Linked DNA regions of Homo sapiens: region 1 is linked to region 2. Evidence: promoter capture Hi-C in 16 types of primary human blood cells and fetal thymus (Javierre and others, 2016). All regions are on one chromosome and are shown on one strand. The core of a region is centred on a gene start or on the middle of the fragment in contact, and the rest is flanking DNA. Distances in the headings are between cores, read along the strand shown. Region 1 overlaps FLJ32255 (a long non-coding RNA gene). Region 2 holds the start of DAB2 (DAB adaptor protein 2).

Evidence for each region. The method cuts DNA at HindIII sites, captures the fragments that hold promoters and counts their contacts. A CHiCAGO score of 5 or more calls a contact.
Region 1: a contact is called between a fragment that was not itself captured here and the fragment with the promoter of DAB2 in region 2, in 1 of 17 cell types (M0 macrophages). The highest score is 6.7, in M0 macrophages.

What each region holds. Positions count from the first base shown.
Region 1 is chr5:42,986,605-42,992,499 of GRCh38, forward strand. It overlaps FLJ32255 (a long non-coding RNA gene), which reads right to left. Exons shown (of 2, transcript NR_104643.1): 1 at 4,235-5,895. LOC105374746 (a long non-coding RNA gene) reads left to right here and starts at 5,671. Exons shown (of 3, transcript XR_007058755.1): 1 at 5,671-5,895. RefSeq lists enhancers at 5,204-5,353, 5,694-5,895. The HindIII fragment of the contact is 4,691 bases long and covers 1-4,640 here.
Region 2 is chr5:39,423,635-39,430,229 of GRCh38, forward strand. DAB2 (DAB adaptor protein 2) reads right to left here and starts at 1,346. Exons shown (of 15, transcript NM_001343.4): 1 at 1,170-1,346. The HindIII fragment of the contact is 7,828 bases long and covers 208-6,595 here.

The sequences.
Region 1 (5,895 bases), core at 1,045-3,544, 3.6 Mb after region 2:
AAAACTGTGAGCCAAAATAAAAATCCTTTCTTTATAATTTAATCAGTCTCAGTTATCCATTATAGTGTGAACATCAAATATCTGAGACAGGTCTCAGTCAATTTAGGAAATTTATTTTGCCAAAGTTAAGGGCACGCACCCATAACACAGCCTCAGGGAGGTCCTGACCACATATGACCAAGGTGGTCATGGCACAACTTGGTTTTATATACTTTGGGGAGATATGAGACATCAATCAATATACATAAGATGTACATTGGCTCCGTCCGGAAAGGCGGAAAAACTCAAAGTGGAGAGGGGGCTCCCAGGTCATAGATTGGTAAAAAACAAACAGATGCATTCTTTTGAGTTTCTGATTAGCCTTTCTAAAGGAGGCAATCAGTTATGCATTTATCTCAGTGAGCAGAGGGATGACTTCGAGTTCTGTCTGTGCTTTGTCCACAAAGAAATTCCTTGTGAGGGTGAGGGAGGTATGTGGCTTTTTTTTTTCCTTTGAGAGCAAGTTTTGCTCCTGTTGCCCAGACTGGTGTGCAATGGCAGGACCTCAGCTCACCACAACCTCCACCTCCCAAATTCAAGCAATTCTCCTGCCTCAGCCTCCCGAGTAGCGGGGATTACAGGCATGTGCCATCACACCCGGCTAATTTTGTATTTTTGGTAGAGACGGGGTTTCTCTATGTTGGTCAGGCTGGTCTCAAACTCCCGACCTCAGGTGATCCGCCCACATCAGCCTCCCAAAGTGCTGGGATTATAGGCGTGAGCCACTTTGCCTGGCCGGTATGTAACTTTTTCAACTTAGCAGCTATATTCTTTAGGAATAGAATGGAAGGCAGGTTTGCCCTAAAGCTCCCAGCTTAACTTTTCCTTTTGGCTTAGTGATTTGGGGGTCCCTGGATTTATTTTCCTTTCACATTTCCTCCCGTTTCTTTTTAAATTCTTTCAGATAAAGCATTTTACAAGAAAGTGAGTCTCCTCTAACATGATATTTGGAGGAGAAGAGCCATCTGATCTCTCATGGCTACGATGGTTTATTCCCAGTTGGGTAGGACACACATTATTAGGAGGGCTCATTTTTAGCAGGTTGTGAAGTCTCACATCCTATGAAGAGAAAATATGGGTAGGAAAGGAGAAAAACAGCGACAAACAAACCAAAAAAGATAATTCTGGAAAATCAATATGGGCCATAATACTTTGAAGTCCATACATCAGCAGGCAGGTATGAGAGTGGTTTATGTATGTACATAGGTTGTTCTTATTTACTTCTGAAGTTTAAGTTGTCTAGCTTCATTTTGCAGGGCTTTAAGAAAGCACAGTTTAGTTTTCAGTGATTTAAAATTAGGAAAAAATGGGTAAGGGAAAGGAAAAGAAAGAAGAAAATAATTGAAAACATCATTTTGGAGACTTTTAGCCAGAAAAAAATTTTGGAATTCAGTCCAAACTGTAGAAAATAATAAAAATTAAATAACATTAGGCAAGACTAGAATCTAACAGCATGTATACTATAGTTGTTGAAACATAATTTTTCTCTCTCCAGTTTCCCATTTTTACTAAAGAGAAATCATGGTAGGACCTATTCGCTTTATTATACTTGGTCTGATTATTTGTATAAAGTGCCGCAAGAACAATTATTTTTCACACAAGCCTTTTTAAATGACTTTGATGGAACTCTATTCCATAGAAAAAGTCTCAGATAAGACTTTTTAAAAGCCGAGCCCGGCCATGGCTTTGTACCATCGAATACATATGAGTTGGGTAAATTCCCCTCCTCTAGAGGTCCCAAGATCACTTGGGGCTCCTGGGCTTGTCAAAAAGTGACATTCTTTACTTACCACAAATCAGAAACCCTGTATAGGGTCTGTGTAGACAAGGTTTGGGGCCTGTTTTCCCAAGGAGCTTTTATTGGCTCTGTAACTCAAGTTTGACTCCTTAAAGAAAAGCACACCATTTCAGTCAAAGCCTTGGTAAAATAACCAGTTTCTCCAATGGTGTTCTGTTGCAAAAGAAAACATTCTTATTGCACTTATGCAAATAACTACATTGACATAAGTTAAGAATATTCACAAATAGTTTCCAAATTCTGGAGAAATCAGGTAAAGAGAAAGAAATATGCTCCAAATTTTGTTCACTGGAGTATACTTTACTGAATTGTTAAAAGCTGTCAATAGCTCAAAAGTAAAGTTTCCTTGACTCAGGAAAACATAAAAAAGGATCAGCAATTTTTTAAGGATCAGCAATTTTTTAGCAAAAAAGTCAACAATATCATTTCAGTCTTCTATTTGTTCGGTCCATGCAATTAACTCCTGTTTGATATTCACGAATACTTCAGCTCTCCATGAGAGTCCTAAAAGTTTACTCCTCTATTCCACTTTAAAAAAAAAAAAATGTTCCCAAGCAGACTCATGTCACATTTTTCTTTATTCTAATGTCACAATCTCCAGAGTAATTAGAAACCTGCATTCAAAAACACCTATCAAAATCCAATAGCTAATTATAAACGACCTTTTGAAGAGGACTGAAAATAAGACAATTGTCTGTGGATGACAAAGTCTTAGGACAGGGTTTTATAATCTATCAAACATTTGTGGAGAGTGTTTTACAAAAAAAAAAAAAAAAACAAACAAAAACCTTTGAGCTACACAGTGAATGTAAAGCTGAGGCTAGACAGGAATGGGATAGGGTGAATCTTCAGTCCCAGAGATCAACAGCCAATGGTTCATTTTTTGTAGGTTAACCTGACCTGGTGGAGTCCTCCATTGGTACCAAGCACAGTTCTTCACTTTCAACTCTAGATGACTTACCCCGGGGCACTTTTACCTTTTGCTTTCTGTCTAGCCTCCTACACAGTCTTTCTTTTACCTACTCTACTAGACTAAGTGATTATAACTGTTATCATCTTTTCTGAGCCTATAATCAAAAGTCAGTATCTGACAAAGAAGCAGATTGTTAAATCCAAGAATTTCTCTGTATCAGGAAAGTATTAATATGGATTCCTGCCTCCTCATTCATTAGTTGCACAGCTTCCTGCAACATAACAACTGGCCAGAAGATTCACCTGTGCAAATTGCCTGAGTGTTGGAGACTGCTTTTATTTGATCTCTCCCACCATCCACCCCGTTTTTGTTTTGTGTCACTTTCATTTGGTTAATAATATTCTAACAATATTTATCATTATAGTTATCTTGATTTGATGCAATTTTTCTTAATGAGATTGATAAAAATATTAGTCTTTCTTAATTCTTTATTATTTATTGTTTTGGATAACACACTGGAAAGGGAAATAGGAAAGGCTCTACATCGTTTGTCATATGTGCTCCACAATTTGCCCTCAAGTTTGATTCCTAGGTCCTACCACCCACACAAAACTGCCATCACCAGCCTGCTCCAATTCTACCCAATTACTAGCCATTGTCATAATTCAAAGTTCCTATGACCTCCTCCAAAGGAGCACAATTTTGTATTTGATCACTTTCTGACCTCCCTGGAATCTACCCCACCTCCAATCACACTAGGATTAGAATCTAAATTCTGCAGCTACCTTGATATCAGTCTCTGTAGGGAAGCAGCCTGCAGCCTCCTATGGACTCCCATCAAGACAGGTTACCTTTTCCCGCTACAGGGTGTTGCTCACAGATTTTTTTTACTAAGATGGGAAGCTGGAGTAGAAATGGGAACAGAGGGCCGGGCACGGTGGCTCACACCTGTAATCCCAGCACTTTGGGAGGCCAAGGCGAGCAGATCACGAGGTAAAGAGATCGGGACCATCCTGGTCAACATGGTGAAACCCCGTCTCTACTAAAAATACAAAAATCAGCTGGGCGTTGTGGCACGCTCCTGTAGCCCCAGCTACTCAGGAGGCTGAGGCAGGAGAATCCTTGAACACGGGAGGCAGAGGTTGCACTGAGCCGAGATCGCGCCACTGCACTCGAGCCTGGTGACAGAGCAAGACTCTGTCTCAAAAGAAAAAAAAAAGAAATAGGAAGAGAGAACTGATGGTAGGTATTTTGCTTTGCAATGACTCCAGACTGCTCTTCTATTTCATAGTGTCTGTAACTATGTGGGTGAGAACAGTGTAGTTTTTCCTTTATTCTTGCAACCACAGGACCAGGAGGCAATTGGAGGAGCCTCAAATAGCAGGGAAGGTTTTGGCTAGCTGAAGAAGGGGTATGGTGGGAGGGAGATATTGAGGCAAATCCCTTGGGAGACAGAATTGCAAGGGCAAAATAGATTTCCTTACCTGGCAGTGCCTTCTCTGCCTTTGTCCTGCCATCGCTTCTGCCTAGGATCCCCCAGAAAAGGATAGTACTGGTTTGCACAGGAGCAGAAGTGGTGAAAATGGGAAATGATGAGTGTGGATGGAGATGCTCATGGCAGGGTCTGTAGGTCTCTTTGAGGGGGCTCAACTCACAAAGTGCAGATTTTTATTGAAATATGAATGCTTGTAGAAAGGACATTTTCCTACTGAGCAATGGCAGTTCCATATTTCTTATCAGAAAGGAAGTAGGCCTCAGTCTGATTGAACAGTGAGGAGAGGGAGGATTCAACACTTACAAGTTCACCTGCATTGCATTTCCCAGAAGAAAGAAGAAAATCAATAACGCATTTCAAAGATCACGGTGCTAGAGACAGAGAACCACAATTTAAGCTTTTCCCTGGGCTTAGAGGCGGATGTCTCACTGCCAATTTCACGTCCAACACCGGAGCCTCGCAGTCCATTTTTCTCCCCAGCTGTTTTAGAAATATCCCCAAATATCAAGGACATCTGAATGAGTGAACCATCAGAATAAGGAGCGATTCCCACAGAGTTCCATCCCACAGGGAAGGGACGGGACCAGCGGGGCAGGCCTGAAGCCTGGGTTGAGCGGCGCTGTGCCTTTCATTCTTCACCGAGATCTCGGACCTAGAGTTTCCAGGTTCCGGAGGGATGCGGTTGTTGACCGCTAGCCTAGAATCCGTGAGGGCTGAACCGGGACGAAGGCCTAGGACAGAGAGGTGGTGTGGAAGGACCCAGCCGCGGCCACTGGAAGAGCAGCTTCCTGCAATGTAAAGTGTTCGCGACCTGCATTTGTTTTGCTTTCTTCCTGGAGGAGCCAAATCCGTCCCATTCTGGATCCTTATTCCAGCTCCTTTCCCTCTGCGAATCGCACTTGGTGGGTCGCGGGGCCCTCAGTAATTAGGGATCACGGATCAGCCAAGAAAAATACAGGTTTTCTTAAGCCTGAAGCCACTGACTTGAGGAGGGAGCGTGGGAGTAATGTCAGTAGCAGTTTTTTATTTCGTTTTCGTTTTTATTTTCTAGTCACTAGGCCACCAAAGAAAGTTCCACCCAACGGCCAGTCGATCCGTCGCAGCGACTCTCTTTTCCCTGAACGGAGGGTTTATGGCTGACACCTCCACTTGTTTCTCAGAGCCGGGGCTGACTGCCGGCTGCATCTTTGAATGGCGACCAAAAAAGACATGCATTTGTCTGGCAAAGTCGCTGGCGTTCGCCTGGTGCCCGCGCTTGCCGGGTCCTAGAGCAGCCAGATTTTCACACCAGCGAGTCCAGCGCCCAGCGCCACTCCGCCTTCGGATCACCGGTTTCTCACATCCGCAGCAGCACTGGCCTGACAGTTTTCCGGTTGCGACAGCGCTAGTTGAGCCAAACAAAACGTTTTCCTGCTTGCTCTGGGCGTCCCATTCTCCATCCGAGGCCTTCTAGTCCCGGTGTCACTGTCGCAGCACCTGGCGTTCGTTAGCTCTTTCACCAGCGGCGCGGAGCGGGCGGTTTTGCTGTCACGGCACATGTGGCACGGAGTTTCTCGGTGGCCGAAACCCTCTTTTTTCTCAGAGTCCAGTTTCTTGGTGACAGCGCTGTTGGTTGCGCCATAAGGAATGTTGTCCTTGACAACCCGCCGG
Region 2 (6,595 bases), core at 96-2,595:
TCAAAGGCATTTTTTGTAGATGCCTGCTTTCCACTCCCATTACTTCTGTTTGCATTAGTTATATCTTACCTCCTTCTCCCCCATGCCCCTGCTTTGCCTGACTAAGGCCAGAAATTTTTTCATGAAGTCACTTTATAGAGCAATAGCAACATTTACTATTCGTGAAGTCGCCCCTCCATAATTTTTAAGTCTTTCCATGTGTCTGGAAGCTTGTTTCTGCTCTTCTCGGTTTACAGAGCGGCTCTCTTCCTTCCAAACAAAAACTAAAAAGAAAGGGGAAAAGGTGGGGGGTGGTTGGGGTGGAGATAACACCCAGATTCCTTAAGTGTTTTTAATCCAGTTGAATTTCCCTTTGGACTCAGCTCCCTGCTGAAACTGTCTGCGGACCAGAATTCCAGGCTCAGAATTAAGTCAAGAGGGAAAGACAGCAGAAACAAATAACAGAGTCAGCTCTATGCTATGAAAACCGCTATGTTGACTGAGGCTCCACGGTTTTAACCCATTCATTTTTCCCCCCTTTTTTAGAATTCTTACTTAATCTTTTTAACCAGCTTACAACAGGCAGGCAAGCACCATATAAACCATGCTCCCTGCGCCGGGGGATATAAAACAAGTTTCTTAAGTCCCTTGGGTAGATACTTCCTTAGGAATGCCGGTGTAAGACAAAAGTTCACATTTTAATGCCATATGTTGTCAGTCACCAGGAAAAAGCTCCTTATGGGCACAAGCCAGGTCCCCAGCCTTTGTCACACAGCAAAAATAAACACCCTTCGAGGAGTTAATTAGGCGGTCAGCAGCCACCTCAGTGTCCTAGGAGGGCTGCCCGCAGACCTTTTACACACACACACACACACACACACACACACACACACACACACACACACACACGACACAAAAGGAGGCGTTTGTTAAATGTCACAAGCTGGGCATCTGGAGTCGGATTCGAAAGGTAAATACATTCCGCGGAAGCATTCCTCAGATGTCAGGCCACAAAACTGCTGGTTTCCCCAAGCACAGGGTCTCATTTCTAAGATTCCCCACAGCCCAAGGTCTGTACTCAAAGAAGGGTAGCGGGGGGCGGGGGGGTGAGAGAGGGGGAGCAAAGGAGAGAAGGAGATCTTTAAAAAAAAAATGGAGCCAGAGGGAAGAAGGGTTTCGAAGCTACTCACCGGCTAGCTATTGCCTCCGTGAAGCGAGCATGACTTCCCCGCGCCCGGAGCCTCCAGGCTACAGCGCAGCGGATGCGGCGGGCCTCGCTTAAATAGCCGCCGGCCGGGAGCTTCGGAGCCGCGCGGCCACTCCCGGCGAGAGATATGGTTCTAATCAGATGCTGGCAGCTGAGGACTCCCCAGGAATGTGCCAGGATGTTTTTGCTGCCTGGGCTTGGTAACTCCCCCTCAACGTGTCTGCAGAGTCTTCCAAACTTAACTGTTTATTAACTCGCGCTGCAGCGGCGCAGAGGACCCCGCTCCCCTGAGCTCCGCGAGCCCCACCAGCTGGGGGCGATCGCAGGGACCCAGCGACGGGAGGGGAAATGTGTTCGGGGAGAAGTCAAAAGCCCCAGACCGACGCGGGCGGGGGGCGGGTGCAAATAAGGACAGGAAAGGGAAGCTCTGGAGGAAAGGGGTGGGATCCACCGAGCTTCGTTTCACAGATCCGTTCCCTGGATTGCCACTGCGAGTGATGTGGCACACGGAGTCATCCTAACCAACCCGTTGGGGCCCTTTGAACAAAGGACTGCCTTTACTCCTGACTTTTCTGACAAGGGACAACGGTTCCTGCGCAGATCTGCAGTTTCTAAAGTTGATCGCGCGATTGGATTTGCTCCCCTTAGAAGAAATTAGTGTCTCCCTCATTGCAGATGCAAATGCGCTTAAGTTAGTGGGAAATCTATGTGTGCATATGTGAAACATACTGTATTTACCTATGAAATATAATCATATATATGGATATAAAAATAATATTCTCTCTGAAATCGATATGAGCAAAACATGTTCACGTCTATGTAGCCTATCAAATAAGTTATAATTCTGATACAATCAGAGATTCTATACAGGCTTCCCTTACAGTGTATATACACCTATATGTAGACACATAACATGACTTTATCTGCATGAATTTCCATAGCACTTCCTATAACTCTAGGAAAAACATGAACTGCAAGAAATAAAATATTTAAAAATGTTAACGTAGAGTGCTGAGCGGTAGAAGGTACTCCGCAGCAAATCCTAATGAGTGTTAACAAGCTGAGAATTCATTTTCTCCATATTTTAAAATCAAGAATTATTGTAAAACATCCACAGAAGCTCTGTTGCTTTTTGGAGAATTCTGAAATTACTCTTGTGAAAGACGTGTCTCTTTTCCCTTTTTTTAAGAAAAAAATTTAATTGTTTAAAGTCAGAGGCAGCACGTAGTAAATGTGAAAATGCTAAATTGTATCTCGGATGGGAGGGGGTTATTGATTTTATCGAGTAAGCAACACAGTGGATTTGCATTTTACCTCTGGAAACTGAGGGTTCAAATAGGGCTCGTGGGACATCAAGGATATATTTTGTGGTCCGTGCCTAGCCTCGACTGCAAAGCCACTGTGTAATTTGGGGTAGCTCAATGTGAGTGGCAATGTCTGCTCTCAAGTAGGTCAGGCTTGAAACAACCGTTGTTCGGGGAGACTGAGGGGTGCAGAGCAGCACAGCTGGCCCAGAATTCTACTTCCCCAGCCTCTACTATTTCTCATCCCCTGACACACCTAGGGGTGTGGAGGCAGGGAGGGCCATGCTGGCAGTTTTCAATATTCCTCAGAGGTAATTTGCTATTTTAAAAAATGACTTTGTGTGAATGACAGGAAGTATACAAATTTTAGTCCTAGGATAGTATTCTATTTATAACATTTATGCAGAGAAATGTAATTCTAGTACATTTTAGAACACAAGGCTTTGTTTCTAAAATCTAGAAGTCCAGTTTCATTTCTATTGGCTAGGTAGCTGGAAAAAGGGCTGCTGACTTCAGGCAAATAGAGACTTTGATAATTAGAAAGACATGGGTGTCTCTTTTAACCTCAATATGTAATATTTTCTAGACTAAGAAGTGCTCACTCAATTCTATTTTTTTTTTTTTTGAAAGACTCTTACCAAGAAATACTAACTTATGTTTGCTCTACCCCACCAAATGGAAGGGATTTGTCTAAGAAGCCAGAGGAAGAAAATGATTTCATCTGCTATGAGTTGTAGTTTCAAGAGAAGACTTTGATGAAAACAGTTCATTTAAGAGCAGTGGGCTCACACTTACAACTTAAAATAGACACCTCTTATTTTGCACAGAAATCTGAAGAGTCGACAGTGGAGAATTCTGGTTTGAACTGTATTTTTATATCTCTAGGGCACCGATATTGCTTCTGGCAGTAATTCAATGTCCTGCTCACATTAAGAAAAAAAAAGAAAAGAAATTTAACTCTTTTTATCCCTCGTGAAACATTGTCTCTGTCTCATCTAAGTTGTTCACTTTTCAACAAGTCTAAAATGAACATCTTTCCCTCTGGAGAATCACGCCAAAGCCCACCCAGATATTTACCCTGCCTAAATAATGGTCTTTTCTTATCACCACTGAAATTTATGTTTAGAAAATTAAGGGGAGGAAAAGTCAGTTCAATGTTTGAAAAACAATAGTCTTTGAATGGCAATTGTCCGTTGCAGAAAACCTGCCTGTGAGAGAGAAGGAAAAAATAAAATAAAACAAATGACTGTGCTCCCAGCCTAGGAAAGGGGTAGTTAATCCCGTGATGGCTTGCTGAAGAATGCATGGTTTATTATTAAAGTAATCTCTTAAGATTTTCCTGGAATGTGCTTCCACAGCAACTCTGCCTGTTCGACCTATCCTATGCATGTGTCTTTTCTTCCATAATTAAGCTGTTTTCCTCTGTTAGCTCACAGACCTAATCCTTTATCCTTTCTCTCCTCCTTCTCCATCACTTCTTCTATCCCCCTCTCTACTGCTCTTGTCTTCCTTAAACTGCCCCTTTTGAAGCCTGTCATTTCTCCTGAATTGTAAATGGCACTTTGGAACTGGCTGTAAGGTAAACTGCCTGTGTGCCTTTGATGCCTTGCTGGACACTTAGAGATGTTAAAATCAAACAAGGATTTGTTGAAGTGGACCTAGTAAGGTCACATCTCTCTCTCTCTCCTTTTTTTTTTTTCCTTCTCCATGTCATTAAAAAAACAATGAAGAGAATGGCTATTGTTCCCAGAAAATGTTCTTTGACCTTGACCAGTCCTGCATATTTAACATTACAGAAAAACTGACCCTACCAGATTTGGTGGCTGGCAAGTCAAAACAAATACTGGAGGTTTTTTTTCATATCTCTGTCTATCCATCTACCTGTCCATCTTCTGATCTAAAATATTTGGAAGATAGTTTCATAGAAGGCAGCCTGTTTGTGTTTTGTTTTCTTGCTTATACCCCTATAGCATCTCAGAACTAATATGTATTTTTCTGTTTTGTGCAATTTTAATGAAACTCAGGTGGTAGACTACTAGGGTACTTGGAAAAATTGGTACTTGTAAAATGAAGAACATTTAAAATTCAATAATATAAATGTATATAACTAATTACACCTCACTTATCAATATAAATTTTTATAATGAGAAATTGTGAAAGGCAAGTAAATACCCATAAAAATTACCATTCAAATAAATACTGTCTTACTTGGAAAGAAACCTAGCAGGAGTTATCAAAAATGAAAATACATAAAACCCTGCAGGAATTACTAATATTAATTGTTATTGTAGCAAACACATACACTTCTCTATCCTAGGAGTAAGAATCTATCCACTAGAAATAAAGCACATGTATAATATGCAAGGATTTTTTTTTTTTTATTTTTCTGAGATGGAGTCTTGCTCTGTGGCCCAGGCTAGAGTGCAGTGGCAAGATCTCGGCTCAGTGCAACCTCCGCCTCCCGGGTTCAAGCAATTCTCTGCCTCAGCCTCCCGAGTAGCTGGGATTACAGGTGCCCACCACCATGCCCAGTTAATTTTTGTATTTGTATTTTTAGTAGAGACGGGGTTTCACCATCTTAGCCAGGCTGGTCTCATGATCCACCCGCCTCGGCCTCCCAAATTGCCGGGATTACAGGCATGAGCCACCACTCCCTGCCCCCAAGGTTGTTAATTGTATCATTTATAGCAGCAGGAAGCTAGGACAAAATATGCCTGTCAATGGAGAATGACTGAGTATGTTATGACTTATCCATACTGTGAAGTCATATGTAACCATTCAAAGGAATAAATTAGAGTCAAATTTTGTGACATGGGAATATTCCTTTAGGTTTTTTTGAGTGAGAAAAGCAAGGTACAGAAAAGCATGGAAAAGATGTTTCTATTTTAGTAATATAAAAAGCAACACCTATTTATATATATTTGGGTATATATGTTTGTGGGTATATATGAAGGATTATCAAGGAGGTTGCAGTACAGATTACTAGGGGCCTGGTGGAGACAAGGGCAGAGAAAAGGGGTGGGAGCCATGCAAAAAGGAAAAAACTGAAAATAGTCTTTATGCAGGTATAGGTCACATTTATGCATTGAAGTGAAATGATATACACGCAGGTTTGTGGGTTTTTTTTCAAAAAGATTATATCATTTTAAGATAAGGAAAGGAAGAAAGGAAATCCTACGAATAGTTTTCATGGAGGTCTACCTTTAGGCTTTTCAAAAGTGAGTATTCATCAGTATGCTCATTGCTTAATTCAGCCTCCAGAGCAATAGTTCTCAAATTGTAGTATTTACGACAGTCATCCCGGAAGTTGGCTACTAGAGTAAATTCCTGGGCTCAGCCTCAGAGACTTCTCTGGAAAGGTCTGTGGTGGGGGTACCAGGGAATCTGTTTTTTGTTTTTTGTTTTTTGTTTTTTTTTTTTGAGACGGAGTCTCGCTCTGTCACCAGGCTGGAGTGCAGTCACGCGATCTCGGCTCACTCAAGCTCTGCCTCCCGGGTTCACGCCATTCTCCTGCCTCAGCCTCCCGAGTAGCTGGGACTGCAGGCACCCGCCACCACGCCCAGCTAATTTTTTGTATTTTTAGTAGATACGGGGTTTCACCGTGTTAGCCAGGATGGTCTTGATTTCCTGACCTCGTCATCTGCCCGCCTCGGCCTCCCAAAGTGCTGGAATTACAGGCGTGAGCCACCGCCGCCCGCCCGGAATCTGTGTTTTAATCAGCACTTCCAGGTCATTCTGATGCAGTGGTCTTGGGGACCACACTTTCAGAGATGCTGCTTTTCTCCTGAGAGAAATGGTGAAACCGCGTCTCTATTAAAAAAAACACACACAAAAATTAGCCAGGCGTGGTGGCGCACACCTATAGTCCCAGCCACTCAGGAGGCTGAGGCAGAAGAATTGCTTGAACCCAGGAGGCGGAGGTTGCAGTGAGTGGAAATCGCACCAATGCACTCCAGCCTGGGGTGACAGAGCAAGACTCCGTCTCAAAAAAAAATAAAAATAAAAATAAAAATAAAAAGACAAAGAAAACAGGTCTAACCATTCACAGACATTCGATTCGGTCCCTAAACACTTCTGCTCCATTCCAACCATGCGCATGTGATGT